2 separate regions of the Homo sapiens genome follow, and region 2 is linked to region 1. Evidence: promoter capture Hi-C in 16 types of primary human blood cells and fetal thymus (Javierre and others, 2016). All regions are on one chromosome and are shown on one strand. Each heading gives the region's core, a stretch centred on a gene start or on the middle of the fragment in contact. The rest is flanking DNA. Distances are from core to core; before and after follow the strand shown.

Evidence for each region. Contacts are between HindIII fragments. The CHiCAGO score rates a contact against its expected background, and 5 or more counts as called.
Region 2: a contact is called between a fragment that was not itself captured here and the fragment with the promoter of RBMXL2 in region 1, in 1 of 17 cell types (naive B cells). The highest score is 6.5, in naive B cells.

What each region holds. Positions count from the first base shown.
Region 1 is chr11:7,086,734-7,090,266 of GRCh38, reverse strand. It overlaps RBMXL2 (RBMX like 2), which reads right to left and starts at 1,269. Exons shown (of 1, transcript NM_014469.5): 1 at 1-1,269. The coding sequence starts at 1,146. It also overlaps a transcript of NLRP14 not described here. The HindIII fragment of the contact is 13,917 bases long and covers 1-3,533 here.
Region 2 is chr11:8,100,924-8,104,302 of GRCh38, reverse strand. TUB (TUB bipartite transcription factor) reads right to left here. Exons shown (of 12, transcript NM_177972.3): 11 at 3,306-3,379; 12 at 1-2,817. The coding sequence ends at 2,684. It also overlaps a transcript of RIC3 not described here. Among named protein-coding and RNA genes, the nearest start is that of TUB, 21 kb to the right of the region's middle. The HindIII fragment of the contact is 1,537 bases long and covers 1,040-2,576 here.

The DNA of each region.
Region 1 (3,533 bases), core at 20-2,519:
GCGGCCTCCTAGACGGCCTCCGCCCCTGGGCACCCTGCAGCCTGACCGGCTGTAAGAATCACGCTGGGGAGGGCAGCCCCTTTCCATGGACAGAGAGAGCCCACGATCTGGTCTGCCCACCCGGTGTCGGCCCCTCGAGTAGCGGTCGCTCCGGCCATAACTGCTGCTGTAACTGTCGCGGCCGCCGCTGTAGGCATCGGGTGAGTAGCCCCGGTACTCCTCGTAGCGGCCTCCTCCTCCGTAAGATGGCGGTGTCCCCCGTCCTGGGGCGGCGCCGCGCAGCTCTCCGTAGCTCTCAAAGGGCTCTCGATGGGAGCCTCTGCTCAGATGATCCCCGTAGTCACGGTCGCGACCTCCGTAGCCGTCTCGGTCGCTGTAGCCTCTCAAGGGACAGTCGTCCCGGACACTGGAGTGGCCGTAATCGCGGTGGGTGTACTCTCCGGGCGAGGGGGCAAAACCCCGGGGTTCGCGGTAGTCTCGGCTCGAGTAGCCGTCTCTGGACGAGTAGCCCTCATCCCGCGGGCCCAGGTAGGGGTCGCGGCGCGGGGGCAGCGGCTCCCGGCGCGGTGGGCCTGAGTAGCCGTCTCGCCCCCGCACGGCCAGGGCCCTCCCGCGCATTCCACCGCCGCTGCTGCGAGCCGGGCCCGACGGCGCGGCCCTCTTGGGGGGTGGGCCGACCCTGCGCGGCGGCGGCCCACGCTTCATGGGCATCGGGGCCCTGGAGGGCCGCAGGTCGAAATCCGCCGTGTAGCCGCCGTCATCATCGGGCCCGCCCCGGGATGGGGAACGCCGCGGGCCGCCGCCACCCCCGCGGGTTCCGCGCAGGAACCTCGGGCGACCGCGGCTGCGGGGAGGCGGCGGGCCCCGCCGGCTGCTCTCGAACGCCGGTTTGGTGGCCTGGGCCACCTTGATGGCCTTACCATCCAGGGACTTGCCGTTCATGTCTCTGGCGGCGGCCTTGGCGTCTGCGGGGCTTTCAAAGGTGACGAACGCGAAGCCCCTCGACTTGTTGGTTTCTCGGTCTTTCATCAGGAGCACCTCGACGATGCGGCCATACTTGCCAAACTCGGCTTCGAGGGCTTTCTCGTCGGTTTCGAGGTTGAGGCCCCCAATGAACAGCTTCCCCGGGCGATCCGCTTCAACCATGTTTGCCGGTCGAACGGTCGGTCAGTGGCGGTGGGAGGCGGTGAGGCGGCGCCAGTCGCAGCCTTCGAGCTCGCTCGTCGAGGGCGGCTCCTACTGGTCAGGCGGCGCCTAGTCGCCGAGTCCACGGAACCGCAGCCGGAGCCCCGCTGCAGGGCGCGCCCCTGCTGCCTGTGATTGGTCGGCTGTTTCCAGAGGGCCAATTCGCCGTCGGGAAAGTCGGCAGTTTTGTGTCTCCTTTTCAGTCTTTAACTTCCTGTTCACCTGACCCGGTCTTAACGGCTTCAATGGCCTCCTGAAAGCTCAGGGAAAAGCCGTTAGGTGGAAAAAAATTTTTTTCTATTAGTTTTAATGAGAACAATTGTAATGATCCCAAACCTAAGCTACCCAAACCATTTTCAAACAGAAAAAAATAGTATGAATTTTTTAAATTACTAAAATTATTAAGTTAAAAATCATTTTTCAATTATTGAAAAATAGAGTAATAACAGTTAACAAGTTTAAATTTTACCTTACTGATCTTTTTAAACTAATCAGCTTTTAGCCTCGTCTATCCTCTGTTTTGATTTTATTTGGTGCTATTGTCTTTATTCTTTCTACATTTATTGGATTTATTGTTTATATTATTTTGTTCTAATTTTTTAAATAAGACACTTAGCACATTAAGAGTTTAAAAAATGTTTCTTCTAATTGTTATATTTAAGGTTAAAACTTATTCTCTATGCACTGGTTAATATCATGCCTTGAGCTGTAATATATGTTGTTTTCATTGTTGTTCAGTTCCTAAGATTTTCTCATCTTTGTTATTTCCTTTTTGGACCATGTATTAAAGAAGTATGTTTGTAAATTTTCAAACATATGTGCCTGTTGGTTATTTTTTAATATGCTCTGTACGATATCCATTGTTTTTCGTTGAGACTTGCTTTGTGACCTAATATGGTGTAATTAATGTTCCATATATACTGAGCAGAAAGTGTATTCTCTAAATGTTGGACAAAGTTCTTTCTTATTTTCTGATATTTAAATCTTCCCTTTTCTAACTTGTTTTTTATTTGATAGAATTGCCAAACACTAGAACTGTCTTAAAATTTACCATAATTGTGGATTTGTAAATTTCTCTTTGTCTTTATGTCTGGTTTTTGCTTCATGTAATTTAAGGTTATATTGTGAGATATATAAAAATTGAGAATTGCTACGTATTTCTGGTGAATACCTTTTTTATGTAATGATCCTCCTTATTCGTAAAAACCTTTTTACCTTAGTCCATTTTGTGTGATGCTTATAACTTTCGGTACTTTTGCAATTTCTTCCTAAATCTTTGCTATCAGCCAAACCTTTCCTTCTTCCTTTTTTCCATCTTTCTTGCCTTTTCTTGTAGTAAGTGATTTGTCTTTGTTTCTTTTTCCTCCACTATGGAAGAAGTTATGCCTTCTATTTCTACTTTTTCGAATGACTGCCCTTAATGTTTTTATTGAATGCTAACTTAAAAATGCTAAGTTTATAAATTTACTTATAAAATCAAGTTTACTGCTTAATTTTACGTGTGTATATCCATGTAACCATGACCCACATTAAAATCTATAACATTTCCATCACTCCAGAGGGTTCACTTGTGCCACTTACTAATCAAACCTAACTGAGATATGCTCTCCTGGCACAATAAGACCAGATAGCCACACTGAGGTTTGCAGCAGGAAAAAGGAGGGCATTTATTTGCAGGGCTCCAAGCAAGGAAGACCAGGCAGCTACTCTTAAATTCTGACCTCCATGATGGCTTACAGGTAAAGGTTTTTAAAGGAAAATGTAAATTTCAGGAAAGCAGAAGTTACAGACAAAATCATAAGTCAATACATGGAGGTTACACATTGGTATTGGCCCAAAGGAGAGATATCTCTTGAAGTGGGGGGCTTACAGGTCATAGGTAGATTCAAAGATTTTCTGATTTGCAGTTGGTGAAGGAAGAGAATTTGCAGTCAGCAGAAAAGAATGAGCTTTGGCTCCTGAGTGTGACTCCATCCAGGCCCCTCAGGAAGATATTTAGAACAAAGAATGGTTGTCAGAGTTTAGTCCCCAGTTCCCTCTTATCTGAGGTCTACCTGTCTGTGGAACTGTTTGGTGGGATCTGGGTTTCTGAAAGACAACTCAGGGACATATGTTAAGACATTATATTTAGTGTCTATAGGGGAACAAAAAATCTCCTGACTCTTAACTTCCATGGTTATTGTTTTAGGTTCCTATTACTTTCTTGCTTATCAAGTTCCTTATTCATTTAAGGAATCTGATGAAGTTCCTTAACTTCATTCCTCAGGGCTAGCTAGATGCATGGAATTTCCTTTAAAGGAACTCCAGATTTTCCTTTATTTCCATATTTGTGGGAGAGGGGTTGCAGA
Region 2 (3,379 bases), core at 559-3,058, 1.0 Mb before region 1:
GTGTGGCCCCAGAAGCGGTTACAGAGAAGCTGCCTAAACTCACTCCCAACTGCCCAATACCATTAGGGACTGCTCATTCTGTCATTAATTCCCTGCCCAAAGACCATCCATCCAGGTAGAGGGTATGAAGGGCAAGAACTCTTATTGTGGGAGAGGCTGAACCCAGGTGGTTTCTAGGGGCCCTAGCAGCTTTACGAGTCCATGCACCCATGGCCCCAGGGCCAGTGGTCAAGGAAAACCAGGATCACCAGGAGTGCACTCAGCTACTGATGCTTGTCATTCAATGCCTGACAGAGTTTTGTGGCTGAGGCTATCCTTCTCCACACTTAGGCTAGAAAGCTCAGCCTGTCTTTCCTGACTCCACCAAAAGATCCAGCCAACTCCCTCTTTGTGCTACAGGAGAAAGCAGAGGCCAAGAGTTTTCCTTTGTGCTTCTGATTTTTCCACTGCCACCGGGGTCTCCGTCTCACCAGAACTCAGAACCAGCCTGTTCTATCTTAAAATCATAGATCCAGAGAAATAGCTTGACCTAACATTAGAGACGATCTAGTTTCCATCATCTCAAATGTCACCATGAAGATCTCTTCTCCTTAAAGGCAGGGAAGGGCTAAACTGGAACTATAGAAAGGAGGATGGCACCATGGTATCTCGCCAGCGCTGGCACAAAGTTCTAGTGCCCTCTAGAAACTGGACCATGTTGCAAAAGCTAATCGTTGGAGGGGGTCTCTCACAGAGATGTACGGCCGAGGTGTGGGCAGATCCTGCTAGGACAGGTATGCCTTGCTTTAAGCATTCAACATAGGAAAATCTAGATTACAAAGAAATGAGAGCATATTACTTCTACTTAAGTCAAAACAAGTCCTTCACCTATAAAGCCTAACACGTTTAAAATACAACTTCTATTTTAAAAAATTTCTACTTAGCTTTTCCAAACATCTACTCTAAAGCAAGGTACGACCCCTGCTTGCTTCCCACCAATTTCAGATCTCTATCTGGGCAAGAAGCCTCCACCAGGGTAAATGACAAATGAGCAAAAGCTTGAGCTTACAGTTCCCAAGCCTGCAGGGTGGATGGTGCCATCCAAGGAGAAATAGCGGTAGTGGAGGGAGTTAGGCTCAGGCCCAGCCCCAGAACCTTTATGCACTCTCTCCCACCTAGACCGAGAAGTGTGCAGCAGCCGTACTAAGGCCTGCTTACTGCTGAGTAGCCCTCGCGGAGGGGCCAGACACAGGCCAATCCTGGATCATACTCACGTGCAAAAAGCCAGACAACTTTCAACAGGGAACTGCCTGATTTCCTACTGGAATGGTTTCAATCTAATTTATCAACTCTGATGCTTCTAAGTCTCTGAATCGGGGGAAGTGGGGAGGGCATGCAGAATGGGCCCCCAGGAGGCCAGAGATACTAGTTTCTTGGGGGACAGTGGGAACAAAGAAATCAAGAGAACTTGAAGTTCTGAATGCTGCCATTAACCAGCTAGGTGACCCAGGGCAAGCCCCATTTTCTGAGTGTGACTCACCTAAAGCAACAAGGTTGTACTAGATTCCTAAGGGTCCTGCCACTGCTGATCTCTTGTGGTTCTAAAATATTCCCTGCTTTATTCACCCTGTCCCATTCCCTCCCAAGAACCTACATGGTTACCAACCATGACTTGGCTGACAGCAGTGAGAAAGTTGGGTCTTTCCAGAGAGAGAGAGAGAGGAGAGATTCTTCAAGGAGCATGCCATGGCTTGGGAATGGTTCTCTGGCAGCAGGATTCCCAGGCATGCCTAGCTGTGTGCAGTCAGGCTGGTGACCTGGACCCCATTTGTGTTTCCTGGGGGTTGTGCTGGGCTGCTCAGCAGAGAGCTCCTGGGGAAGCTGACAGGACTCCCAGAACAACCCTGATCCAGGGACCCTGTTCATGCACTTCTGCATGCTGAGCCTGTGTCTTGCAGGGCCCATCCACCAAGACAGCCCTGAGAGCTGGGTTCCTACTGCCTCTGTGAGACACAGCAAACCTGGAGAAATCAAATGCGCTAGAAACCTAGCCACCAGCTGATTCCCATAGCCACAGCAAGCCAGGCACCTGCAATCCTGACAGGGTCCTGCCACTTACCTGTCCCCACCACCCTCCCAACTTCTCTCAGGCTTGAGTGAGGCCTTCTGAAGTTGAAGGGCTTTCTGCAGTTGTTTAAGGGCCAGGCTTGGCCACCAAGCCCTTTGCTACATAAAGTTGATGTGGCCTTCATACATACACACATTCACTGTGCCCCTACCTGCTGGAGTACCCATTGCCATCTGACTCCTTGGCTGAGCGGACGACTGGGCCACAGCAGCCCTGCAGTGTGCTTCCTCTCCCTCTATGCCTCTTGCGGCCTTCCCAGCTGAAGAGGTTGCTCAGCTTGGTAAGTACGACTACAACACACTACTACCCCAAGGGTGGGAGTGTGTGTTGATCTCGTGGCATGGAAAGAATTATTCTCATCCCTTCACACCCACCCACCCGCTCTCCACTACTCCCCTGCCTCAGTAGCAGAGGCAAAGGAGCCAGTTCCTGGCTGGCTGGGCCAGGGAGCCCACTGAGGGCCAAAGCTTCATCTGGCGGAAGGCCTATATACAGAGGATAGGCAGGGCTGTCTCCACAGGCAGGCAGGCAAGCTCCGCTCCAGGCTGGGCAACCCCAAAGGGCACGAAGAGGCCTCTACTCGCACGCCAGCTTGCTGTCGAAGCTGGACAGGGCAATGGCAAAGGCCTGCAGTGCACACAGCGGGTAGTTGTAATCCATGGTGAACACATCCTCTGCTACCCGGCCAAACTGCATCACGATGTAGTCCGCTGGGGCCAAGCACAGGCACAGACAGAGAAAAGGACAGGACAGGAATGGTAGAGCCAGGGAAGGATAGACAGACACCCAAACCACATGAGGGAAGAACAAGTGAGAAGCAGAGATGCCAGGGGAATCACAAAGGGAAGTAAAACAAAGGCCAATTGGGAGAAGTGGCAGGAAAGAGGTGGCAGATGGCAAAGGACAAAGTAAGATGCATGTGAACACCAGGGGACAGAAAAGAGGAAAAGTCCTTTTAAAGGGTGTTCCCGTGCCTGAGACTCCGTTGAATACACAGAATCTAGGACCAGGGCTGCAAAGAAGGTTCTTCCAGGACCTCCCAGTCATTAGGGTTAGAAAGTTCCATACATCTAACCTTAGCTGTATAGCTCACATTCTTAAACTCTAGCCAGTGTAGGCAGGGCTAGGTGGGCTGAACCCTACGCTAAGGGCCTTGGGTATCCTACGGACCATAATGAGTAGGGACAGAAACACTCACGGTCATTGCCATGGATGATCTGGAAGTTCTTCACGGAGGCCTGTGTGACGCGCCCATGGAAGTTGAGTACATAG